7 separate regions of the Homo sapiens genome follow, and regions 2, 3, 4, 5, 6 and 7 are each linked to region 1. The links are contacts of gene promoters, found by promoter capture Hi-C in blood cells and fetal thymus (Javierre and others, 2016). All regions are on one chromosome and are shown on one strand. The core of a region is centred on a gene start or on the middle of the fragment in contact, and the rest is flanking DNA. Distances in the headings are between cores, read along the strand shown. Region 1 holds the start of TTC12 (tetratricopeptide repeat domain 12). Region 2 holds the start of FDXACB1 (ferredoxin-fold anticodon binding domain containing 1). Region 3 overlaps DIXDC1 (DIX domain containing 1). Region 4 holds the start of PIH1D2 (PIH1 domain containing 2). Region 5 holds the start of IL18 (interleukin 18). Region 6 overlaps REXO2 (RNA exonuclease 2). Region 7 overlaps BCO2 (beta-carotene oxygenase 2).

Region 1 (3,602 bases), core at 87-2,586:
GGTTGCCAAGGATAGAGAAATACACTAACACCTGACTTTGATCATGACAGGCTGGTCTAGTCAGAAGCTTAAATGTGGATGTGTGACAGGTAACAAACTTGGGGCAATTTGCATCTAAATGTCCATACTTGTTTAAAATCTGCCTTTGGCTTGTTTCTGAAGAGTGAAGAAAGGGTACAAATTGACTGAAGGGATTAGAACATAATGTTACCATGCTCACCAGCGTCTCTTCTGCTCTAGGTACCTCAGATATTATTTTACAGTTGTTTTTGTGCGAGAAGGCCCCGTGGTGTACCCAGCAGTACTCAGTGGTTCATCCACAGATCATAAAAATCATCGGGAAGATTGTTAAATATACAGCTTCCTCAGCCGTAGCCCGAGATTTCAAGTCAGTAAACCCGGGACATTGCCCAGACACGAATATAGATTTTAAACACTTTCCAGGTGATTCTCATTTATGGCCAGGTTTCATAGTAGTGTAACACGCTTCTAACACGTAATCTGCCACGAACAAACTACGAGTGATTTAATCGAGTCTCAGTGTCCTCATCTCCACCAGTTACAAGCTGTGTGATTCTGGCTAAATTCACAACCTCTCCGAGCCTCAGAGTCCTCACCCATACTATGGGAACAGTAAGAGAGAAACTACGAGGACTATTCTGGGGACTGATGTAAAGCACCAGGCACGCGACGAGTCCTCACCGTGAAGCACCCTTACCTATATAAAACAGGGGGTGGGGTTGCGGCTTAACTGAATAATCGCTAGGGTTTCTTCCAGGTCAAATCTTTTCAACTCCCACGGAACAGAGGCCTAGTCCAGTGAATTAATCTGCCCAACGGTATGAAGGTTAGAAGGCAGGCGCGCGGGTGCATGGACAGGAGACAACCTCTGTCTCCCAGGGCATGGATCTCAGGGTCCTCACTGCCTGGCCAGTGCCCCCCTACGCTAGGGTGAGAGGGCCAGAGCCAGGTGATGGCGAAGCGGCGCCGCGCTCAGTGCTTCACTCGGTAGGGCTGCGGCAGCGGGGACCTGTGCCCGAGCCCCGCGCGGAGCCTGCCCCAGACGCGCGCTGCCCGCCGGGCGCAAAGAGGCCAGGCCGCACGCACTGTTGCCCAGCAACCGCTCCCAGGCGTCCGCAAGTCCCGGGCCCTCCATGCAGGTCCCAGACCGCAGCCGTCCCAGACCGCAGCCAAGACCTTCCCATGCTCTGGGGCCCAAAGCAGCGTCCTCTGCTCGGCTCTGAAGGCCAGTGCAGGACCAGCTCCCAGGGGGGATTCCGGGGTACCCCGCGGCACCGACCTGATTCGCCCAGCTTTGGACAGGAAATGGCGCAGTGACCTGCCTGGGCTGGGGCGGGGCCAGGAGCCAGGGGCCCGGGGCGGGACCAAGGGCGGGGCCAGGAGCCAGGGCCCGGGGCGGGACCAAGGACGGGGTCAAAAGCCAGGAGGCGGGACAGGGGGCGGGCATGGACACGCGATCAGATTCGCTACCGCAGAGCTCTAGCTCCGGAGCGCGCCAAGTTGAAGGCCAAAGTCGAGGTTGGGATGCCCGATGCCTGGCGCGGGGAGACGGAGGAAGCAAAGTGCTGGTAACTAAAGCAGCGCCTGCTGCTCGCCTTTTTTCTACTGAAGAAGGGTTGTCTCACTCCCGTTAGCTTAATATCCTTGCCCAAAATGTAAAGTCTCCAGTGTACTTGTGAATCCGGTTTTGTTCATTGATAAATGTGTGAGTTAGAAGACTCACACATTTATCCTTAGGAAAGTTATTTGAGTAACCTTTTTAATCCTCAGTTTTCTCACCTGTGAAATGGAGAAATGGCACTTTCTCATAAGGTTTATGGTTAAAGTGCTGTAACCGCCCAATAGGTTCACCTTGCTCACTGCCTAAACAGAGTCGATTTATCAAGACAGGGGAATTGCAATAGAGAAAGAGTAATTCACACAAAGCTGGCTGTGAGGGAGACCGGAGTTTTATTATTACTCAAATCAGTCTCCCTAGCTTTCAGGGATCAGAGTTTTTAAGGATAATTTGGTGGGTAGGGGTCAGTGAGTCGGGAGTGCTGATTGGTAGGCTAGGAGATGAACTCACAGGGAGTCAAAGCTGTCCTCTTGTGCTGAGTCAGTTGCCAGGTGGGGGTCATAAGACCAGATGAGCCAGTTTATTCATCTGGGTGGTGCCAGCTGATCCATCGAGTGCAGTGTCTGTGAAATATCTTAAGCACTGATCTTAGGTTTTACAATAGTTGATGTTATCCCCAGGAGCAATTTGAGGTTTAGAATCTTGCAGCCTCTAGCTGCATGACTCCTAAACCATAATTTCTAATTTTGTGGCTAATTTGTTAGTCCTGAAAAGGCAGTCTAGTTCCTGGGCAAGAAGGGGGTTTGTTTGGGAAAGGGCTGGTATTGTCTTTGTTTCAAAGCTACACTATAAACTAAGTTCCCCCCAAAGTTAGTTTGGCCTATGCCTAGGAATGAACAAAGACAGCTTGGAGATGAGAAGCAAGATGGAGTCGGTTAGGTCAGATCCCTTTCACCATCTCAGTTATAATTTTGCAATGGTGGTTTCAGTGCCTGGTACCTAGTCAGTAGGAACAGGTGGCACGTGACATCCGGGGAATCATAGGGTTTAGAACAGAATGAGCTAATAGGCACATTCATTCATGCCCCAAATACATGCACACAGCCCTAAAGAAATTTCAGTCTGTTTTTCTAAACAAAATCTCAGAGTATTATGTGCAGGGTTACCAATGGAAAAAAAGCAGGTTTAGGGGAAACTTGAGCTTAAGTTCACGGTCAGAAACACCCGGAACTTCTTGGCAAATGAGTGCTTTATGGAAACCTGTTTGGCAGGGAACAAGGAGCCCCTAGAGATGGAATTCGCCAGAGGGGAGAGGGATCCAGGCATGGCCAGCTAGCTCTAGTGTTGATTCCAAGTACAGCCTGTTGACTCTCTTGTGGCCTAGGCCCCATAGGATGCATGCCTGTGTCCTGTAGAGAACAGAAGAGCTGTTTGGCTGAAGTCTCTATGATGCATTGGTACACATACCATCCTGCTTGGGTACCCCTCTAATGCAGTATAACACAAAGGGGCCACGGATGTTCTGCTCCTCTTGGCAGCTGAATGGGTACAGCATCAGCAGAGTGAGTCTTTTGGCTCATCAACTGCAGCAGGAGACCTGGGGATCCCAGCAGGACATGGTCACAGTGGCTGTCCCAAGGGAATGAGGTGCCTCAGGAGAAGTAGCAGACAGTGTAGGTGCCTGGCAGGAGCAAGGACGTTGATGAGCACAGGCTAGGCACACCATAGGGATCCTCAGAAAGATATAGGGTACTTCACAGTGACCTTCCAGCCTGTGGGAATTGATGGAGACAAGAACCAGTGATGTTTTGGTTATCACCATTAGTATCACCCCATTTTCCTCTTAGGCCTGTGAGGCCTTGAATACATGAAGGCTATATGCCTATGGTCCCCAACCTCAGGGTGTTTCTTATCACATTGAGGCCAATAGTTCCAAATCACTTACTTCCTATCCTACTACTCTTTTCACTAAACTCCTTTCCTAGGTTCCAGAGGTATCTGCCCACAACTGACTGTACCACCT
Region 2 (3,602 bases), core at 317-2,816, 1.4 Mb after region 1:
TTAAGAAAGTAAAGGAATAAAGAATGGCTACTCCATATGCAGAGCAACCCTGAGGGCAGCTGGTTGCCCATTTTTATGGTTGTTGATTATATACTAAACAAGGGGTGGATTAATTCATACCTCCACTTTTTAGACCATATACGGTAACTTCCTGACTTTGCCATGGCATTTGTAAACTGTCATGGCGCTGGTGGGAGTGTAGCAATGAGGATGACCAGAGATCACTCTCATCACCATCTCGGTTTTGGTGGATTTTAGCTGGCTTCTTTACTGCAACCCGTTTTATCAGCAAGGTCTTTATGACCTGTATCTTGTGCTGAGCTATCTCATCCTGTGACTAAGAATGCCTTAACTTACTGGGAATGCAGCCCAGGTCTTAGCCTTATTTACCTAGCCCCTATTCAAGACGGAGTTGCTCTGGTATAAATACCTCTGACATTCTCACTTATAAGTGGGAGCTAAACATTGAGCAAACATGGACCTAAACATGGAAACAACACACACTCCAGGCTACTAACTAGAGTGGGGAGGGCGGGTGGTGTGGGTTGAAAAACTATTAGGTGCAATATACCCATGTAGCAAACCTGCAACCTACCTGGGTGCAATATATCCACGTAACAAACCTGTACCTGTACCCCCATTTGTAAAATAAAAGTTGATTTTTTTTAAAGGCTTACAACGCTCCCTATGACCTGGCCCCTGCCTAACTCTTCAGTCTCATCTGTTACTCTCCCTCCAATTGTGTTTCAGCCAAACTCAACTATTCTGTTTCTCCATCAAGCTTTTGCATATATTGTTCCTTCTGCCTCTTCACGCCTCTTGACTCAGTTAAGATGCACTTTTACCCTGTTAGCTTTCAACTCGGGTTTACTTCATCCAAGGACTCTCTGACCCTCTTCGCCCCCAAACTTGGTAACGTTCTTCTGTGTGCTCCCAGAGCACACACCCTGCCATATCAGAGTTGCCTGTTTTGCTCTGTGCATTCCCCACCAGACTGCAGGCTCATTGAAATCATAGGCCACATTTTGTTCATCCACATATCGTAACCACCCTCACAGTGGCCTGGCACGCAATAGACACTCAATACTCTTTCTTGAACGAATAGAAGATAGGAGATTTAAGCACCTGGAAGAGAAATTTTGAGCAGCAGAGACACTGGGAGGCAGCCATTTCAGACGAGGTGAAAAAAGGTTCAAAACCTTCTGCGTCAGGAGCATGCGAGACACAGTCCAACCTCTTCCTTGGCCTCAGCCCCGCCCCGTTTCTTTCACCCAGAACTCGCCTCACCCCCCTGCGCTAGTGACTGCTTGTGACCTCATGCAGGTGTGATGAAGTCGCTCAAGGCCATGCTTGGGCTAAAGACACTTTGATCTTCCCGAGGGGGTGAAAGGGCGAGGTGACAGGAAAGTGCGCGTCTTGCTTTTGCACTCATAGTTATCATCCACCGGGGAGTCGGTACACCGGCTCGTCTAGACAACCAGGCGCCATGGGTGCGTCATCAACTAGTGACGGGAGAAGACGGGGCGGAGAGAGATCCGTGAAGGAAGTGACGTAAAACGAGCGCCACAGAGAACGCGAGCCGGGAGTCCGTGGAGGCCATGGCCCCTCGGCGCCTCCTGTTGGTTGGGGAGGGGAATTTCTCCTTCGCCGCCGCTCTGAGCGAAACCCTGGATCAGAGCACTCAACTTACCGCCACCTGCCTCCAGCGCCCGGCCGAGTTGGCTCGGGATCCACTGGCCTGGGAGAATCTGCAGTGCCTGCGCGAGCGAGGTAGCGAGCCCGCCCCTCTGCGAAACCCCGCCCAGCGGCCGGCGCGTCCCAAAGTGGAAAGGGTGGGGGCGTGGGGATGTAACCCACGTGGAGATTGTTCTTGATCGTCCCACGGATATTCACATAAAGCCGGCTTTGTGCCCAGACTTGGGCTGGTCTGCACGGTTTAAGTTAGGAAGAGTTTTTCTGTTCCATGTCTTGAGGCATCCTCCTGTCTATATTTTGCGCCCCCAAACTATCTTTGCCAGGTATCGATGTACGTTTCGGTGTGGACTGCACCCAGCTGGCAGATGTCTTTGAACTGCACGAGAGAGAATTTGATCAAATTTATTTCATCTTCCCGCATTGTGGACGCAAAGCTGGCGTAGCTAAGAACAGGGAACTGCTTGCCAAATTTTTCCAAAGGTGAGGAAAGGAGCGCCCTCACAAGGAAAATGTTTAAGATGTCCATAACATAGTTACTGTACCCAAACATAAGGCACACGTGCAAGCTACTATGATATGTTTAGAAGAGACTATAAAGCCCCAAAGGAACCCCAAGTTTAGTTGGAAAGACAGATATATAAACCCTAAATGCTAAATGAAAGTACAAATAATGTACTCTTGGGTGTGTAAAAGAGGATCATTTATTTTTGACAGTGCAAAATAATGAGAGCCATATAGTCTAATGGCTAAGAACGTGCACTTAGAAGCCAGACTGCCTGGATTCAAATCCCAGCCCACCACTTAACAGTTGTTATTTTTTTATTTTTATTTATTTTTATTTTTTGAGACAGAGTCTCGCCCTGTCGCCCAGGCTGGAGTGCAGTGGTGTGGTGCAATCTCGGCTCACTGCAAGCTCCGCCTACTGGGTTCACGCCATTCTCCTGCCTCAGCCTCCCAAGTAGCTGGGAGTACAGGCGCCCGCCACCACGCCCAGCTAATTTTTTGTATTTTTAGTAGAGATGGGGTTTCACCGTGTTAGCCAGGATGGTGTCGATCTCCTGACCTTGTGATCCGCCTGCCTTGGCCTCCTAAAGTGCTGGGATTACAGGCATGAGCCACCACGCCCGGCCAACAGTTGTTATTTTAAGCAAGCTTACTTAATCTTTACATGCTTCCGTTTCCTCAACTGTAAACTAGGGATATTAATAGTAACTAACTGGGCCAGGCGTGGTGGCTCATGCCTGTAATCCCAGCAGTTTGGGAGGCCGAGGTGAGCAGATCACCTGAGGTCAGGAGTTTGAGACCAGCCTGGCCAAAGTGGCAAAACCCCGCCTCTACTAAAAATATAAAAATTAGCTGGCCGTGCTGGCACGTGCCTGTAGTCCCAGGTACTTGGGAGGCTGAGGCAGGAGAATCGCTTGAACTTGGGAGGTGGAGGTTGCAGTGAGCTGAGATCGTGCCACTGCACTCCAGCCTGGGCGACAGAGCAAGACTCCATCTCAAAAAAAAAAAAAAAAAAAAAAGTAACTAACAGCCTCATAAAATTATTGTGAACTGAAAACAGTGCTTTACATGATTATACCACAAGACATGATACTATTGGAGGTGTCCGATGGGGCATAGCTGTCAATAAAGTTTTGACAGAGGTGGTATTTTAAACTAGTATTTGAATTTCAGGAGGGCAGTGAAAAGAACTTTCTAAATGGGAAGAAACAGCCTAAGCAATGAATCATATATAGGAACTGTGCAGATATTGATCTTTCTGTGACATATGCATGAATGACACAAATGCAAAGCAGACCCTGGTCAGCCAATCTTATCAGTGAGTGGGTTGAACATTTAATTTATGCTTCTATTTACTTCCAGCTACTTTCTTTGCATTTTTTGAGGTCTAATAGATTTTTGCA
Region 3 (3,602 bases), core at 1-2,500, 1.3 Mb after region 1:
CATCCGAAAGGGTGAGACGGGGCCTAAGAGATGACAAGGGCACGACCGAGGGGGAGGGGCCTAAAAAGGCGCAGAGACGCGGGTTAATTGCGGCCGAGTGGCCTGAGAGTCTGGGCCGAGGGGCGTGGCCAAGCTTTCTGGAAAAGCTGGAAGTGAGCCCGGGAACTGGCTAGGGCAGTGGGAGCCTCAGGCCAAAGGGCGGGGGTCTTGGAGTGCTGGGGTGGTGAAGGAGCCAGGAATCGCCCGCGAGGGAATCGAGGGGTCCGGCGTGGTGACCTCTGCTTCTGCGCATCCGAAGGGGGATGGACTGGGCCGCGCCCCGCGCAGGCTGTACTGGTTGCAAAGATTTCGTTTCAGGTTTGTAGCCCAAGTGGAAAGTGGAGTGAACAGGTGTTCCACCCAGCCAAGTGGTAACGAAAGGCAGCCCAGAGGAAGATACATTCCCGCATTCATGTATACTGTAGCAAGATTAAGCATATTCCCTGTATGAAGATATAGGTTTACAAAACAGGTGTTGCTCCCTAATACCATAGAATTCTTTTAAGTAACCAAAAGCTTCGTTATGTTTCAAATGTTTGAAAAACTTAACTGTAAGCCGTTGAAGGCATGAAGAGTGTCTGCGTGGTCCTTCCATGTAGCCCCAGAGCTTAATATCCAGTAAATAGCGGGGGCTGAATGTATGTCTTTTGAATCAATGAATAAAAAGTCATCTACACATTTTGTTAGGCACGCTTCTCTTGTAAAGTTGTCTTTTAATTAGAAAACATATCGTTTCTGAACTGAAGGTGACATTAGATAAGGAGGAAGCATGTGCTGTGTATCACCACCTCCCCCCTGTAGAGATGGTTAGAGAACACCAAGAACGCAAGAGGAAGTTGGAGGGAAGAAACTTAAAACAAGATTTTAGCCAGGAGCGGTGGTGCATGCCTGTAGTCCCAGCAATGCTTGAGAGGCTGAGGTGGGGGAATCACTTGAGCCCAAGAGTTTGAGACCAGCCTGGGCAACATAATGAGACTCCCATCTGTTAAAAAAAAAAAAAAATGGGGGCTAATCTTGCTAACAATTAATTTGGAAAACTAAAACAGATTGGATGTACTATTTCATGCCTACTTAAATTGGAATGTTTAAGCAGGTACAGCTGTCTATCAGAATAATATGTAAGCAATATAATTGAGAAATATAAAATTTCTAGATTGAATGAAAAGGCATATTTTAAATAATATGAAGAGAGCAATTATATTGTTACAATTATGTACAACTTATGAATTAACAATTGGAAGAAGCAATGAAAGAATAATTGTAATTACTGAAAGGACTTATTACTATTATTTGGGGATGGAGTCTCACTCTGTCGCCCAGGCTGGAGTGCAGTGGCATGATCCCGGCTCACTGCAACCTCCACCTCCCAGGTTCAAGCGATTCTCCTGCCTCAGCCTCCCGAGTGCTGGGATTACAGGCACGTGCCACCATGCCCAGCTAATTTTGTGTTTTTAGTAGATACGGGGTTTCACCATGTTAGTCATGCTGGTCTCAAACTCCTGACTTCAGGTGATCCACCTGCCTCGGCCTCCCAAAGTGCTGAGATTACAGGCGCGAGCCACCATGCCCGCCCAGGACTTATAAATTATTATAAAAATGTTTTTGAGTTGGCTAAAATATCTTGCTGCTTTTGCTGCATTTGAACTTAATAACTGGATCTAAATTAGACTTTGGTATAAAGTATGAGGTGATCTTCCGGATCTGTTGTGCACTTAGGTATGCTTGCTTAAACCCTGTTTTGCATTTTTCAAAGAATAGCGAGTTTGTGTCTTGAATATACTTTTGACTTAAGTGTAGTTAAATTATAGGAATGCATAGCTCAAACAGTCCAGAGATGGCGAGCTTACCCCAGAGGTGGGCTAGGAATGCTTAGGTTTCTCAAATCAGTCCTGAGAGAACAAGCTTGAATTCCACTAAACAGACTGGATAAAGGAAATTATGGAAAAGGAGACTCAAGACTCAAAGGTTTGAAATAGAGATACTTAAGAGAATGGTGATATCACTGATATTGAGAGAAACAGAAATTAGTTGGTAGTGAAAGATTTTGAGTTATGTACATATTTAATTTTAACATAATGGGATAGCCAATTAATAGTTGAAAATACGTAATTGGAAGTCAAATGAAGGCACTCAGGGATAAAGAATTTAATATAGCAAACATTTAAGATGAATTGATAAGAGGCATTTAAGAGGCAGCTTTCAAATGATCTGGGAATTCTGGTCATTTTAAATACACATTTCTGAAAGAGTTCTTAATGCTTGCATACTGACTTTTGTCATAGAGTTTATACTCTTGGGTTCTTATTTGTTTGCATGTTTACATATAATTTCAAAATAAGTGCTAAATAAATTGTCCTTGATAATAGCCTATGTGCTTACATAGAAATACTAATTGTAAAATATCTGTAGCAATAAAGTAATTCTTATCTCCACTCCACATAGTGAGTAAACATGCTACCAGGGAGATCACTTGAGGAAATTTGCTTTCACTAAATGTAAATGGCTTTATTGATTAATCTCATCAGTAAACGCAAGTGAAAATCATTAATGATATTTAGTTTGCAAACCCCATTTTATTCATAGTTTGTGGTTTTTTAAATTAGTTCACAAATCTGGTACATACCGGCAGTTAAAACTGGTTATCACTTTGATAATCAGAAGCCTCTGGTGTAACATAGTCTTCATGAAAACATATTGTAAAACAGGGAGAATACACAGTAATAATCTCTTTGAAAGCAATGGCTGTAAACATCCATGTTTCTAAGAAAATATAACTTTACATATATATGTATTTTAAGCAAGCTATACCTCTTACATAAATTCAGACAGTAGAAGGAGTGTGCAATCATAATGCTTATTTTATGGAAACAGTGAAAATAATTTTAATTATGACCTAAATGCTTTTAAGTAATTAAAGTCCTCTTGAATTGGATGTATAGTATAAAGATATTTTCCCTAATTTGCAACCATCCTGGTCAAAAAGAGCTGAAAAGTTGGTCAGTAAGTAGAAGTGCCATTACCAAGTAAGTTTAAAACAAATTCTTCAAATTTAAAAATGTAAAAATTGTAAAGTATCCCAATCCCCCCAGCTAATTTAGGGAACTGAGCAAGAAGAGAACATTCTTCAGTTTTTAAATGACTTTTTTTTTTTTTTTTTTGGAGATGGGGTCCTGCTCTGTAGCCTAGGCTAGAGTGCAGTGGCATGATCAGCTCACTGCAACCTCAAACTCCTGGGCTCAAGCAATCTTCCCACCTCAACCTCCTGAGTAGCTGGGACTACAGGTGTGTGCCACCATCCCCAGCTACTTTTATAATAAAATTTCTATGTAGAGACGGAGTCTTCCTACGTTGCCCAGGCTGGTCTTGAACTCCTGGGCTCAAGCAGTCTTCCTGCCTCGGCCTCCCAAAGTGCTGGAATTACAGGCATGAGCCACCACACTCAGCCTTAAATGAAGATTTTGTAAGGAATTGAGCATTCAACTAAACTCGTTTTTGTGAGATGGTCATTTTGTTTTAACCTAACATGGTTTAGAGATTATTTTATGAACTCTAAGCATTCTGGT
Region 4 (3,602 bases), core at 730-3,229, 1.2 Mb after region 1:
CAGAATGATATTTCATACCTGGTAAACGTATACCTATTCAAGAACCAGTTCAAAGATCAGCAGCTGAAATACCACTAATTCTGTAAAATCTTTTCTAATTCCCCAGTGTAGATTTTATTATTTCCTCCTTAGTGCTCCAAAGCACTTTGCAAATATCTCTGTTATACAGTACTTATCAAACTGTATTATAATTATCTATTTTATTCATCATTTTATTTCCTACTGTGTACGGAAGCTTCCAAAAACTAGATGACAAGAATATTCTTTGTATCTCCCAGTTGTTCCAAAATAATGCTTGGCACACTGCTTGCCTTCAGTAAGCGTTGAGGAGTAACTAGGTTGTACCTCCCACCTTATTGTGAGCATCTGTGTGCCGGATGACATTCCTCAGGAGGACCTTCCCCAGTGGAATCCGGGACATTCTTCAATCTGAAATGAATCAACAAATAACGTTTAGTAATAATTTCTGTTATTACTTTATCTTTTCTTGAAGTTTTATAAAGAAGCATATGAGGTACAGGAAAGATCACTGAACTAGAAGTCAGAGATTCTAAAGAATAGTTTTCCCTTTACCATTAAAAGAGGGAAATGCCTAAACACACTAATGTGAGATGAAAGGAGATAATGTACATTAAAGTTCTTTGAAAATGCACAAGACTACATAAAATTAAGTGCTTTCATGAGCACCATTTTATTTAATCCTCATAACTACTTTTTATATGAGGCAAGTATCTCCATCCCTATTTTGTAGATGAAGTTCCCTTAAAGCTGTAACGTCCCAAGCCACATAGTCCCAGGCAAATGATGTATGTCACTGTCTAAATTAAAAATCAAACCTCCAATCCCAATATAGTTTGCACTGAAGCAAATACGTAGATTTGAGAGTGTCAGGAACCACGGGTGTCAACAGTAACAGAAACTGATTACTCAAAACATCAAATGCAAAGATGTCCTAAATTTCTCCATTTGGGGGCATTTTATTTCCTACTTGCTACGGAAGCTTCCAAAAACTAGATGACAAGAATATTTTCGTGTGTAGCTAGCAGGAGCTTTGTGCAACCACCCCAACGCTCACTCACCCCTTGATCCTGAGGAAATCAGGCATCTTGCTAGTGAGACGAAGAACCACTCCATTACAAGATCTCCTCCGACCCAGGAAGCCAAGGAGTCAGGGCTCAAAGGCAGCTCTGCAGCTTCACCCGAGTCCTTCGTGAAAACGCAGCCTTCCCACTGGTTACTCTGCCCTCACCTGTGGCCCAGGCCACTGCCGCGTTTCCCCCAGCCCAGACCGACAGGCAGATCTCTCTCCCGGACTGAGGCCGGAGGCTGAGCCGGGGCGGAATTCGGACAGCCCGGTTGACCTGGGCATTCCCCGCTCACGCTCCTCTAGGACGAACCCCGGGGGTAAGTTTCACTCCCCAGAAAGGCTGGGAACGCTTTGGATGGCTACGGCCTTCGGTTGGGCCCCAGAAAGTATCTAGGGAGCCTGAAGCGGGGGTTGAGGTTTCCAAGTGGAAGACAGAGGAAATATCCCCATCTTTGTCACCGGGATCCCTGTTCCCCAGCGGCCTCGGAGCTCCCGGTAACCTTCCCTCCAAACGCCCTCCCCACACAAATACACACAAACACACCCATACCGTGCGCCGCAGCCTCGCGTGGCGGGGGGTAGGGGGGAAGAAGTGGTTTGGGAGAAAAAGGAGGAGACTTCCTTTTCAGGCCGGAAGTCGTGCTCCTGAGAAATCGTCCCACCAACAGGCAGCCCAGAGACTCCCACAAGGGAGGGTTTTCAGGACACTCCAGAGGTTGACGGGTGCAGAAGGAAGGCGGGCGCTTTCCTGGAAGAGAAGTGGGTCAGGCCCAACTGAAAAGCAAGCCTGGCACCAGAAGGGGGACATTCCGGAACTAGATATGAAGAGACTTTTCTCCCTGAAGTTCCCCGGACCCAATTAGATGTTGTACCCAGGCTGGTTACCCTGGTAACAGGCGTCGCGGTTTGTCAAGGAACTGAGAGAAGAGGTGGGTTTGCCAACCTATAGAATGATTACCCGTTAGAACTGAGAGAAGAGGTGGGTTTGCAGACCTATGGAATGATTATCCGTTAGTTAAGTTTCCCGTTTAGCATAACCCTTACACAGTAATTGAAGAATCTAAACCTCTTTTCCTCATTCTAAAGATGCTGTGGGACACCTCTCCAATGGGAGAAGAGGCTAAGGAGATTTATCTGAAGACGTAGAGAAGTGTCCCAGCCTCTCTATTAGCTTACTTAATCTCGCAATAATCCTATGGTAGAGGTATTATCGTCTTCATTTTGAACAGAACATTAATTGCTCAAGGTCACAGAGCTAGTGAGAGATAGAACTAAGACCGGAATCTAGGCATTCTGGCTCACAAGTCCATGCTTTGAAATACTAAACTATACTGAGGATTAAGGAAGTCTTATGTGGCCCTCACCCCACACCACACCTCTGGCAATTTCAGAACTGGGGAGCCACCAGTCAGGTGTTGGAACAAGAAGATCAGGAAACCCAGACTTAAAATGATTACTCTGACTTGTCAGGGTCCAAATAGAAGTAAGGCCTTATCTGAGAGGACAATGTGAGAATTTAGGAAGAGGTACTAGATAATTAAAGAATAAGGAAAACATAAAGTGGTGCTGATCCACAACCTTTTAGACACAAATGCTGTCCTAACTTCACCAAAACAATTCCTGACCCATTCCACCTCCCCAAAGCAGAAATGAATCAATAATTACACAGACAGTTTTCTTCCTGAAGTCGTGTTTTTCCACAGGCTTAAGAAAATTATTCACCACTCATAAGTCATGGAGACATCCTCAAAAGGTCTGCTTACCCAAGTTACTCAGTTTTGGAACCTCCTAGATGATCTAGCTCAGAGTGACCCTGAGGGCTATGAGAAGTTTATTCAGCAGCAGCTGAAAGAAGGGAAACAGCTCTGTGCTGCCCCAGAACCACAGCTTTGTCTACAGACCAGGATTCTGGTATGTCGAGTTGGTGCCAGGGATGGGGAGGTCTTGAATGAAATGATCCCAGAATAACCAGAGAATACTTTACACTTAGGTATTGCTAATTTTTTTTGTTTTTTTTTTGTTTTGTTTTGTTTTGTTTTGTTTTTTGAGACAGAGTCTTACTTTGTCACCAGGCTGGAGTGCAATGGTGTGGTCTTGGCTCGCTGCAACCTCTGCCTCCCGGGTTTAAGCGATTCTCCTGCCTCAGCCTCCCAAGTAGCTGGGATTACAGGTGTGTACTACCATGCCCGGCTAATTTTTGTATTATTAGTAGAGGCGGGGTTTCACCATGTTGGCCAGGCTGGTCTTGAACTCCTGACTTCAGGTGATCCACCTGACTCAGCCTCCCAAAGTGCTGGGATTACAGGCATGAGCCACTGCGCCTGGCAGACTTTTTTTTTTTTTTTTTTTTTTTTTTTTTGAGATAGGGTCTTGCTGGCTCTGTCGCTCAAGCTGGAGTGCAGTGGCACAATCACAGCTCACAATCACAGCTCATTGCAGCCCAAGCGATCCTCCCACCTCAGCCTCCCAAGTAGCTGGGATCACAGGTGGGCATCACCACACCCGGCTAATTTTT
Region 5 (3,602 bases), core at 758-3,257, 1.2 Mb after region 1:
GTCCTTCCTAATTTGGGGGGCACAGGTGAGATAAGTTTTATGAAATAAAAAGATTAAAAATTCTTACATTTTTAGTGTCCTTCCTTGGTAAAATGTAGAGTTGTCCACTGTGTTTATCTCCTCCTCCTTATTATCATGGTTGCTGTTATTATTTTTAATGGTTCATTAAACCCAAGGGTCTGGGAAATACTCATGGAATTCATCTCACAGCCTTCACACTGTATGATATTTAAACAGGTGGTTGTCCATCTGATTCTTAAAATATTTCCAAGAAAAATGATTCCACCTAATGCATAAATGCTTTCATCAGATTAAGAGAACACCATGGACATTTTATTTTCTTTTATTTTTTAAATATTAACTTCCATTGCATAAGCTAAATGGGTAGGAATAAGTGAGATGATATTGTTATCTAGAGCTTTAAAATATTCAAAGGGCTGTCATCATTATCTCATTTAATCTTTGAAAACAACTCTATGAAGTACAAAGGACACTGAGACATTTGTTGCTCTATATCAAAGAAAAAAGTGTTTGTCCCAAAACTTCAAAATGTGTAAATTACACATTCTGCATCTTTACAGCTGGAGAAAATTCACTGGCAATGGAATATTTAAAATTAGAGCTTGCTTAGTGTGCTGCTTCTGATCACTACTTGATCCCACTTCGTGCTTTCATGTTAATTGGCCCAATTGGACTCTACAGTTGGAAGGTGAAAACTTACTATTTCAACTTGAGTCACGTATGTATTCTTATCATATACTTCTTAAAGGTACTATTTTTTTTCTTCTGATAGTCACCACACCAAGCACTTCCAGCCACCCTGCCACAGACTTCCTTTGTAATCACTGTTGAAGGACATGATGTTTTTATGACTTCCCGAAATGAAAACCCTATCTTGTTTTTAAAACAAACAAACCAACAAAAAGTAGTGTTTATGTAAGCATTTTGTTCCCTGACTCTAGGAACCCCTCTGTTTTTATATCAACTCTGTACTGGCAAAACACAAAAACAAAATGCCACCTTGCTAATTCCCTTCCTAGCAAAGTAATACAGTTTAGCACATGTTCAAGAAAAAAATGGCTAAGAAATTTTGTTTCCACTAATTATTTTCAAGACTGTGATATTTACACTCTGCTCTTCAAACGTTACATTTTATAAGACTATTTTTTAACATGTTGAACATAAGCCCTAAATATATGTATCCTTAAATTGTATTTCAAATATTTTAGGTCAGTCTTTGCTATCATTCCAGGAATAGAAAGTTTTAACACTGGAAACTGCAAGTAAATATTTGCCCTCTTACCTGAATTTTGGTATCCCTCTCCCCAAGCTTACTTTCTGTTGCAGAAAGTGTAAAAATTATTAAATAAAATTCTAATGATGGTATCCGTGTGGCTTGCATCTGATACAGCAGATAAAGAAGTTTTATGAAAATGGACTCCTGTTCCACTGAAAAGTAAATCTTAATGGCCTGTATCAACTATCCTTTGACACCATATTGAGCTTGGGAGGAAGGGGAAGTCCTGAATGAGGTTATAAAGTAAAAGAAAATATTTGCAAAATGTTCCTTTTTTTAAAATGTTACATTTTAGAAATATTTTAAGTGTTGTAACATTGTAGGAATTACCCCAATAGGACTGATTATTCCGCATTGTAAAATAAGAAAAAGTTTTGTGCTGAAGTGTGACCAGGAAGTCTGAAAATGAAGAGAGACAGATGACAAAAGAAGATGCTTCTAATGGACTAAGGAGGTGCTTTCTTAAAGTCAGAAAGAGATACTCAGAAAGAGGTACAGGTTTTGGAAGGCACAGAGCCCCAACTTTTACGGAAGAAAAGATTTCATGAAAATAGTGATATTACATTAAAAGAAGTACTCGTATCCTCTGCCACTTTATTTCGACTTCCATTGCCCTAGGAAAGAGCCTGTTTGAAGGCGGGCCCAAGGAGTGCCGACAGCAGTCTCCTCCCTCCACCTTCTTCCTCATTCTCTCCCCAGCTTGCTGAGCCCTTTGCTCCCCTGGCGACTGCCTGGACAGTCAGCAAGGAATTGTCTCCCAGTGCATTTTGCCCTCCTGGCTGCCAACTCTGGCTGCTAAAGCGGCTGCCACCTGCTGCAGTCTACACAGCTTCGGGAAGAGGAAAGGAACCTCAGACCTTCCAGATCGCTTCCTCTCGCAACAAACTATTTGTCGCAGGTAAGAAATATCATTCCTCTTTATTTGGAAAGTCAGCCATGGCAATTAGAGGTAAATAAGCTAGAAAGCAATTGAGAGGAATATAAACCATCTAGCATCACTACGATGAGCAGTCAGTATCAACATAAGAAATATAAGCAAAGTCAGAGTAGAATTTTTTTCTTTTATCAGATATGGGAGAGTATCACTTTAGAGGAGAGGTTCTCAAACTTTTTGCTCTCATGTTCCCTTTACACTAAGCACATCACATGTTAGCATAAGTAACATTTTTAATTAAAAATAACTATGTACTTTTTTAACAACAAAAAAAAAGCATAAAGAGTGACACTTTTTTATTTTTACAAGTGTTTTAACTGGTTTAATAGAAGCCATATAGATCTGCTGGATTCTCATCTGCTTTGCATTCAGACTATTGCAATATTGCACAGAATGTAGCCTCTGGTAAACTCTGTTGTACACTCATGAGAGAATGAGTGAAAAAGACAAATTACGTCTTAGAATTATTAGAAATAGCTTTCACTTTAGGAACTCCCTGAGAATTGCTGCTTTAGAGTGGTAAAATAAATAAGCTTCTCTTTAAACGGAATCTCAAGACAGAATCAGTTACATTAAAAGCAAACAAAAAATTTGCCCATGGTTAGTCATCTTGTGAAATCTGCCACACCTTTGGACTGGGCTACAATTGGATAATATAGCATTCCCCGAGATAATTTTCTTTCACAATTAAGGAAAGGGCTGAATAAATATCTCTGTTTGAAGTTGAATAACAAAAATTAGGACCCCCTAAATTTTAGGACTCCTGAAATTCGTCTTTTTGCCTATATTCAGCTACTTTACGTTCTATTAAATCTTCTTTCAGGCCAGGTGCACTAGCTCATGCCTAGAATCTCAGGCAGGCCTGAGCCCAGGAATTTGAGACCAGCCAGGGCAACACAGTCTCTACAAAAAAATAAAAAATTACCTGGGTGTGTTGGTGCATGCCTGTAGAACTACTCAGGATGCTGAGGACTGCTTGAGCCCAGGATAGCCAAATCTGTGGTGAGTTCAGCCACTAAACAGAGCGAGACTTTCTCAAAAAAACAAACAAAAAAACAAACAAACTTCCTTCAAAATAACTTTTTATCTGCAATGTTTTCCTATTGCCTGTGAGATTAAATTTACTCTTTTACCTGATTTCCAAAGCCCTCCATAATCTAATCCGACTTTACCTTGTGTTCACTGCAAAATAGCAGGACTGTTCCACTACAATCCAAAAATCACAGGTTGGGTGCAGTGGCTCACTCCTGTAATCCCAACACTTTGGAAGGCCAAGGCAGGTGGATTGCTTCAGCTCAGGAGTTCAAGACCAGCCTGGGCAACATGGCAAAAACCCTGTCTCTCCAAAACATACAAAAATTAGCCAGATGT
Region 6 (3,602 bases), core at 278-2,777, 1.1 Mb before region 1:
ATAAATGTTTAAGAACAGTATTAGCTACCACATCGACTTACATATACAAACGTACATATACCTTCAGAGAAACATTAACTTCCCTCTGGCAATGTCACCCTTTTAAAAATCCTGGTAGAACAGGCCTGGTCTCTTTAGAAAGTCAATGACACAGGGGAAAAATAATAGGTGGAAAGTTTTACATTAAGAGACTAAAGAAATATAACTAAATGAAATGCACGAGCCTTGACTGAATCCTGGTTCAAAAACAAATATTTTGGGGAACATCTAATGTGGACTAGATATCATATGATACTGAATAATGTTTAATTATCTTCAATGCAATGACATTGTATTACATAAGAAAATGTCTTTATCTTAGGAGATGTTTGATGAAGTATTTAGGAATGAAGTGTCCTGATGCCTGCAATTTCCTTTAAAATGTCCAACAAAAAATAGGTAAAACAAATACGACACAAGGTTAACAATTACTAAATCCACTCCTCTGTGCATGTGAAATTTTTCCATCATAAAAATATGGGAGAAATTCTTATTGAGTAAGTTTGTGTTTCCCAGATCTCATGTCAGGTTTCAGGGCATTTTCCCAATACTCATGCTATAAACTACACAGAGAAACTTGAACAGAAAAGTTAAGATGTGTAACCCAAAGCAGGGTTAAGTGGAAGACATGGATGGGCTCGGCTAGTCTTTCTGGAACTGCAGTCTCTTGAACCACTACATATGGAAGACTATAAGATATACACAGGATTGGATTTTACCTGCAAGTGGACAGAGCCCTGGAGGAGTCTGCTGTCGTACAAAGGACAGAAATTCATACTCTGCCTGCTGCAATGTAATTGTACTCTCCTTCACTGCCTTGGTAAGGCCAGACTGCAAGAGAGAATCCCCAGCCCCCCACCAAAAACACATGTAAAGTCAGTTTTCAAAGGCATCCAGAAATGAAATTTCACTTTTAAAATGGGCAAATATAACCACAAATAGACCATTTTTAGAGCTCAAGTTCAAATTGCAACTGCCATCTTTGCACCATTTTTTTTTCTTCAAGAATCCAAGCCAACTTAGTTATGATCCTGACTGTTAATAGCATGTCCACAGTCAAAAAAGACGGTGTTCAAAGTCCAAGGATATTAACCTCTGGGAAGAAACAACTATTAACAGGAGAGCAGCAATCCCCCTTCTCTGAAAGTTGATGTCTAACCTTATCCAAAAGACTGACTTGAGTAATACTTGACAATCCACAATGCGTTCGCGACAGACTGAATGTAGGAGAGAAAAAAAAGAGGACATTCAGGAGAAGATGATCTCGAGAGGTCCCAAAGATGAAAAGTAAACAAGCAAGCAGTTTCCCAGGCTTGCCATGCAATCTTCTCTAAGCCTTTTTAAAATACCATCCAACAATGGTATCGGATTCAGGTGTGGGAGCAAAAAGCTTGCTACTGATCCCCAAAGCAGCAATCCTGTTATTTGGTAATGTTACCTTCCCGTGATGCTCCTTACACCAATCTGACATGCTGTCCAGCAACTCATCTGGTTGTTTTATAATCAGGTTAGGACCCTGTGGATGGGAAACGCCATCAGTCACCAAGAAACAACAGGAATAACCTTACTTTCAGAGGGAAAGCTTAAGCTGTTTTAAGGACTAAATATACATATCAGAGAAAGTAAGAGATAAGGATACTTTAAGTGTTCCCCCTTCATTCCAGCACTGTTCATTAAGGCAAAATAGAACATACGAACATACACACACCACTGAAAACTCTAATCCTACAAATAGATGACACAGATATCTATCAAGGGTCAGCAAACTATGGCCCCACACTTCAGCTATTTATTAATAGCTAGAAAGCTAAGAATGATTTTTACATTTGTAAAAGATTGTTTAAAAAAAAAAAAGAACATATGACAAGAACATATGACTGCACTCAAAGCCTAAACAATTTAATAACTTGCTCTTTCCAGAAAAGTCTGTCAACCCTTGATTATGAGTTCATTTTGAAAAGTGTCTAGGCCAAGCATGGTAATCCCAGCACTCTGGGAGGCCGAGGTGGGAGGATCACTTGAGGCCAGTAGTTCAAGACCAGTCCAGGCAACATAGCAAGACCTCATTTCTACAAAATTAAAAAAAAAAAAAAAAAAATTAGGTGGGCCTGGTGGCACACCCCTACAGTCCTAGCTTCTCAGGAGGCTGAGGCAGGAAGATCACTTGAACCCAGGAGTTCGAGGTTACAGTGAGCTACATGCCACTGCACTCCAACCTGGGTGACAGGGTGAGACCCTATCTCTTAAAAAAAAAAAGTATCTATATTGCAGGTGAAAAAAACAATTGCAAAACCATGTATGTATAGGTATGATTTCATTTACACTTGTTTTAAAAAAAACACGCATTTATATAAACATACAAAATATCAAGACAATACATAAACTTGGAGTAAGAAGGAGCAATAGAACAGGACAAAAATCCAATAGTTCACTACACACATACTTTGGATAGTTACACTGTTTTAACAGTATTTTTATATTTAAAAAAAAATTAAAGAGGTAATTGTTGATATCCAAAACACAAAGTAGCCCTCAAATTCTCAGCTCCATTTCATAGAACATCCAAGTATGAGTCTCTCAGATAAGTCCTGGCAGTTAACAGTAGCTACGGCATTAAAGCAAGTCACCTCAGCTTCTCCCTCTGTAAGATAGTGATAATAATAAACTGTACCCCTTCCCTCATAGAAATGTTAACAGGATAAAAGAAATTATAGATATGAGCTCTTTGAACTCTCTGATAGAAAAGTATTCCATAAATCCAAGGTATTATTACTACTAAGGTGGTAAAAACAGTTCACAATCACTGAAAGAAATGGCTAGAATTTAATTAAAATACGCCTGACATCCTACTACTAAAAAGGAGATTTAGCCAAACAAGAAAACTGGTGTTGGTAATCTCTGCGAAGAAACAAAAAATTTTGCTTGGATAACAGATGTTTTATGATAGTCACGAAGGAAAAAGAAAACCCAAACCTATGAAAATGAAAAAAAATACTCATACTATTAAAAAAAATACTAACAATGATGGAAAAATCAAACTACTACAAACTATTTTAGATCCCTATTTAGCAAGCCAAGGGACCACACCTACAGAAAAATTTTCAGAGTAGGATGCCTGCTCTTCTACCAGCATAAAACATTTTTCTCAGACTCTTATAAAAGAATAAAACATACTGCAGAACTGATAGCCCCTAAGCTTTTTTTTTTTTTTTAACATCTTTATCCTCATCTGACTTAGTCCATTTACAAATGCTGCATTCATCTGCAGCTGTGTGAATACATACCCAAATTTCCTCCAGGGTACATATCAACCTACGGGTCCATTAAACTGTCAGTATTTCACATTATATCAACAGTCTAAAGGAAACACTCTTCTTCGGCCAAGGGTAAGTTAGACTGGTAAAATAAAGACACTTCTCTTCACTATTGATCTCCAATAAATCCCAAGTAACAGAAAAAAACAACCAAATCTAAAACTCAGGGCTTTATTTATACAAAGTTAAAAAAGTTGTTATGATGAGAAGTACAAAGTCTCATGATTCTCCTACAGTTGATATGTGGGG
Region 7 (3,602 bases), core at 348-2,847, 1.1 Mb after region 1:
TCCAACTATGTGACATTCTGGAAAAGTCAAAACTACAGAAATAGTGAAAAGATCAGTGGTTTCCAGGGGCTGAGAGGAGGAAAGGGGAAGGGACGAATGGGGGAGCACAGGGAGATTTTCAGGGCAGTGAACTATTCTGTATGATATTGGTAGATACATGACATTATGCATTTTTCAAAACCGGTAGAACTGTACAACACAGACCTAACCATCATGTAAAGTATGGACTTTAGTTAGTAATAATGTAACACTCCTACATTGATTCATCAGTTGTAACAAATGTACCATTAGCAGGAGAGGGAAATATGGAAACTCTCCATACTTTCTGCTTGATTTTTCTTTAAAAGTAAAATTGCTCTAAAAAACAGTCTATTTTTTTTTGGAAGTCCTTTATTGTAAAGGTAATTCTTTTGTCTGATGACAAACAGCAGCCACAGTGATTATTCTGGATCTCCACAATGGACAAATTCAATTTCTTCTTGAGACACAAGTTTACTTCTATATTTCTGAGGTAATGTTTTCATTACTTCTGCAGTGTCTGGTACATCCACAAATCCAGTAATTTACTTCCCTTAGAATGCTGGGAAATTGCAGAATCGTGAGATGGTTGCCCTGCTGATCTCAGAGCTTCTGGTACATTGGGTTTAGGATTGTCTCTTCCAGCAGGGAAGCTTATTAATGGAGCATGTGGCTTGACTACCTGAACGACACTGCTAGCAGATGCATCTTGCTGCCCATCATGACCCCCGAGAAGGGACAGTTTCTATTATATTTTTTTAATCTACAGCCACAGCATGCTTCATGGTAAAATGCTGCAAGCTTTGCCTCTCAGATTGGGAACAAGTTAAGGATGCCATTATCATCACTTATATTCAACACTGTACTGAAGATCCAGTGAAATAAGACAAAAAAAAAAAAGCCAATATACAGCTTACATGTAGAGTTAGAAAAGGAACTATCATTACTTGCATATGATATTATAGATGTAAAAATCTAAAAGAATCTATAATTATTAGAATTTGTAAGTGTAATTACTATATTAGTGAATATAAAATCAACAAACAAAAATCAATTGCCGGCCAGGTGCGGTGACTCATTCCTGTAATCCCAGCACTTTGGGAGGCCAAGGTGGGTGGATCACTTGAGGTCAGGAGTTCAAGACCAGCCTGGCCAACATGGTGAAACCCCATCTCTACCAAAAAAATATGAAAATTAGCCAGGAATGGTGGCACATGCCTGTAGTCCCAGCTACTCAGGAAGCTGAGGTGGGAGTATTGCTCGAACTCAGGAGGCAGAGGTTGCAGTGAGCTGAGATCACACCACTGCACTCCAGCCTTGGTGACAGAGTGAGACCGTCACACTGTCTCAAAAAAAAAAAATTGCTATATAGCAACACTAACATAAAATGAAAGCAAAAAATAAACAACATTTAAAATAATGTAAAAAAAAAACCTAGGAATAAATCTAACAAAAGATGCAGAAAATATGTAACCAGAAAACTATAAACATTGAAAGAAATTAAAGAAGTCTCAAATAAATGGAAAGATATATTGTGTTCACGTACTGGAAGACTCAACATTGTGTAAAGAGGTTAGTCCTCTCTCAAATTGATACATTGGTTCAGTGCAAATAGAATTAAAATGTGACCATATTTTTGTGTGGGGAACTGACAGCTGATTCTAAAATTTCTACAAAAACGTGAAGGGCCAGGGATGGCCATGACACTCTTTTCAAAAGAAAAATATTAGGATAACTTGACACTAAACCTTAAGACTTTTTTAATGCAGTGCACAAGTAACCATAAGTAGAAACAATGGAACAGAATATACAGTCCAGAAACAGAATAATGCATATACAGATACTTGACTTCTCTAGAAGATAACATAGGATAATATTTTCATTACCTTGCCATGAGAAGATGTCTAAAACAAGATGTACAACGTATAAGTCATAAAGGAAGAGACTGTATACTGGGCCATATTAAGTTAAGAATGTTTATTCATTAAAAGGCACTATTAGGATAATCTGATAAAGATAGCTAGAAAAATACCTATAGCAATTTTATATTTAATAATGAATTATTAAACATTTTTCAACACTACCTATTCAACTTCTATTCACTATCTTGCACTTCTATTCAACTCGAAGTCCTAGCTGGTACAGTAAGGCGAGAAAAAGAAATAAAGCCCTAAGTATTAGAAAGAAAGCTGTCATTATTTTCAGGTAACATGACTGTGCACATAGAAAATCCAAAATAATCTGTGGATCAACTATTTGAACTAATAAGTGAATTTAGCAAGATCTCTGGATATGAAGATAATATACAAAATCAATTGCATTTCTATAAAGAGCAACAAACAGAAAATGAAAGCTTAAAAGATACCATTTACAATAATTTCAAAACACACAAAAAGAAATGTAGTATCTTTATACTGAAAACTATAACTTTACTGAGAGAAATTTTAAAAGACCCAAATAAATGGAGGGATATTCCATGTTCATGGATTGGAAGACTCAATATTGTAAAGATGTCAATTGTCTCCAAATTGATCTACAGTTGCAATATTGTATCAGGTTTTTTCCTTGCAAAAACTGACAAGTTGACATCAAATTTAAAAGTTTCTGCACAGCAAAGGAAACAATCAACAAAACGAAAAGGCGACCTATGGGCTGGGGAAAAAAATTGCAACCACATATCCAATAAGGAATTATACTCAAAATTTGTATATTTTTAAATTTTTTTGTAGAGATGAGGTCTTGCCATCTTGCCCAGGCTGATCTTGAACTGCTGGGCTCAAGCAATCCTCCCACCTTGGCCTCCCAAAGTGCTGGGATTACAGGCGTGAGCCACCACACCTGGCCTCAAAATTTATAAAGAACTCTTACAACTCAATACCAGAAAAACAAATAACCCAATTAAAAAATGGGAAAAGCCGGCCGCCGCCCCGTCTGGGAAGTGAGGAGCGCCTCTGCCCGGCCGCCCACCGTCTGGGAACTGAGGAACACCTCTGCCCAGCTGCCGCCCCTGCCGCCCCAGGAGTGCCTCTGCCCAGCCGCCCACCCTCTGGCAAGTGAGGAGCGCCTCTGCCCGGCCGCTGCCCTGTCTGGGAAGTGAGGAGCGCCTCTGCCTGGCCCCCACATTGTCTGGGATGTGAGGAGCGCCTCTGCCCGGCCCCCGCCCTGTCTGGGAAGTGAGGAGGACCTCTGCCCAGCTGCCGCCCGTCTAGGATGTGAGGAGCGCCTCTGCCTGGCCGCTGCGCAACCTTCCAAGTGTGAAGTGACAGCCTTGTGTGTGATCTTTTCTGTCTTCCCCAAGTTTGCATTTTCAATATTAAAGTTTACTTTTTAATTAAAAGTTAAAAATAAATTAATTAATTAATTAATTAAAAATAAATAAAAAATGGGCAATGGACCTGAACAGTCATTTCTCCAAAAATAGAGGCCAGGTGTGGTAGCTCACACTTGTAATCCCAGCACTTTGGGAGGCTGAGGCAGGAGGATCACTTGAGCCCAGAAGTTTGAGAAAAGCCTTGGCAACATAACAAGGCCCCTGTCTCTACAAAAAAGTTTTAAAAATATTAGCTGAGTGTGGTGCCATGCAC

What was found. The method cuts DNA at HindIII sites, captures the fragments that hold promoters and counts their contacts. A CHiCAGO score of 5 or more calls a contact.
Region 2: the fragment with the promoter of FDXACB1 here is called in contact with the fragment with the promoter of TTC12 in region 1 in 7 of 17 cell types (naive CD8 T cells, total CD4 T cells, total CD8 T cells and 4 more); the score reaches 9.1 in naive CD8 T cells.
Region 3: a contact is called between a fragment that was not itself captured here and the fragment with the promoter of TTC12 in region 1, in 2 of 17 cell types (monocytes and activated CD4 T cells). The highest score is 6.4, in monocytes.
Region 4: the fragment with the promoter of PIH1D2 here is called in contact with the fragment with the promoter of TTC12 in region 1 in 1 of 17 cell types (non-activated CD4 T cells); the score reaches 5.5 in non-activated CD4 T cells.
Region 5: the fragment with the promoter of IL18 here is called in contact with the fragment with the promoter of TTC12 in region 1 in 1 of 17 cell types (monocytes); the score reaches 8.1 in monocytes.
Region 6: a fragment that was not itself captured here is called in contact with the fragment with the promoter of TTC12 in region 1 in 1 of 17 cell types (total B cells); the score reaches 6.6 in total B cells.
Region 7: a fragment that was not itself captured here is called in contact with the fragment with the promoter of TTC12 in region 1 in 2 of 17 cell types (naive CD8 T cells and total B cells); the score reaches 6.0 in naive CD8 T cells.

Annotation. Positions count from the first base shown.
Region 1 is chr11:113,312,317-113,315,918 of GRCh38, reverse strand. It overlaps TTC12 (tetratricopeptide repeat domain 12), which reads right to left and starts at 1,336. Exons shown (of 22, transcript NM_017868.4): 1 at 1,301-1,336. TTC12-DT (TTC12 divergent transcript) reads left to right here and starts at 1,463. Exons shown (of 5, transcript NR_199709.1): 1 at 1,463-1,589. RefSeq lists silencers at 966-1,065, 958-1,252, 1,276-1,525. The HindIII fragment of the contact is 13,389 bases long and covers 70-3,602 here.
Region 2 is chr11:111,877,129-111,880,730 of GRCh38, reverse strand. It overlaps FDXACB1 (ferredoxin-fold anticodon binding domain containing 1), which reads left to right and starts at 1,566. Exons shown (of 5, transcript NM_138378.3): 1 at 1,566-1,770; 2 at 2,019-2,175. The coding sequence starts at 1,599. CFAP68 (cilia and flagella associated protein 68) reads right to left here and starts at 1,190. Exons shown (of 4, transcript NM_022761.3): 1 at 1,126-1,190. The coding sequence starts at 1,170. RefSeq lists enhancers at 1,313-1,782, 1,279-1,898. The HindIII fragment of the contact is 2,066 bases long and covers 784-2,849 here.
Region 3 is chr11:112,021,575-112,025,176 of GRCh38, reverse strand. DIXDC1 (DIX domain containing 1) reads right to left here. Exons shown (of 20, transcript NM_001037954.4): 20 at 2,524-3,602. Among named protein-coding and RNA genes, the nearest start is that of DLAT, 2.0 kb to the left of the region's middle. RefSeq lists an enhancer at 618-807. The HindIII fragment of the contact is 1,386 bases long and covers 558-1,943 here.
Region 4 is chr11:112,072,394-112,075,995 of GRCh38, reverse strand. It overlaps PIH1D2 (PIH1 domain containing 2), which reads left to right and starts at 1,979. Exons shown (of 6, transcript NM_138789.4): 1 at 1,979-2,016; 2 at 2,791-2,998. The coding sequence starts at 2,822. It overlaps NKAPD1 (NKAP domain containing 1), which reads right to left and starts at 1,697. Exons shown (of 6, transcript NM_018195.4): 1 at 1,080-1,697; 2 at 353-429. The coding sequence starts at 421. RefSeq lists enhancers at 1,205-1,254, 1,315-1,434, 1,845-1,894. The HindIII fragment of the contact is 10,336 bases long and covers 1,003-3,602 here.
Region 5 is chr11:112,162,499-112,166,100 of GRCh38, reverse strand. It overlaps IL18 (interleukin 18), which reads left to right and starts at 2,007. Exons shown (of 6, transcript NM_001562.4): 1 at 2,007-2,195. It overlaps TEX12-AS1 (TEX12 antisense RNA 1), which reads left to right. Exons shown (of 3, transcript XR_001748384.2): 2 at 1-25; 3 at 582-739. The HindIII fragment of the contact is 1,434 bases long and covers 1,333-2,766 here.
Region 6 is chr11:114,441,809-114,445,410 of GRCh38, reverse strand. It overlaps REXO2 (RNA exonuclease 2), which reads right to left. Exons shown (of 7, transcript NM_015523.4): 3 at 1,478-1,555; 4 at 759-870. Among named protein-coding and RNA genes, the nearest start is that of REXO2, 4.1 kb to the right of the region's middle. The HindIII fragment of the contact is 192 bases long and covers 1,432-1,623 here.
Region 7 is chr11:112,205,737-112,209,338 of GRCh38, reverse strand. All of the region lies in intron 8 of BCO2 (beta-carotene oxygenase 2), which reads right to left. It also overlaps the pseudogene MRPS36P4. Among named protein-coding and RNA genes, the nearest start is that of PTS, 19 kb to the left of the region's middle. The HindIII fragment of the contact is 1,552 bases long and covers 822-2,373 here.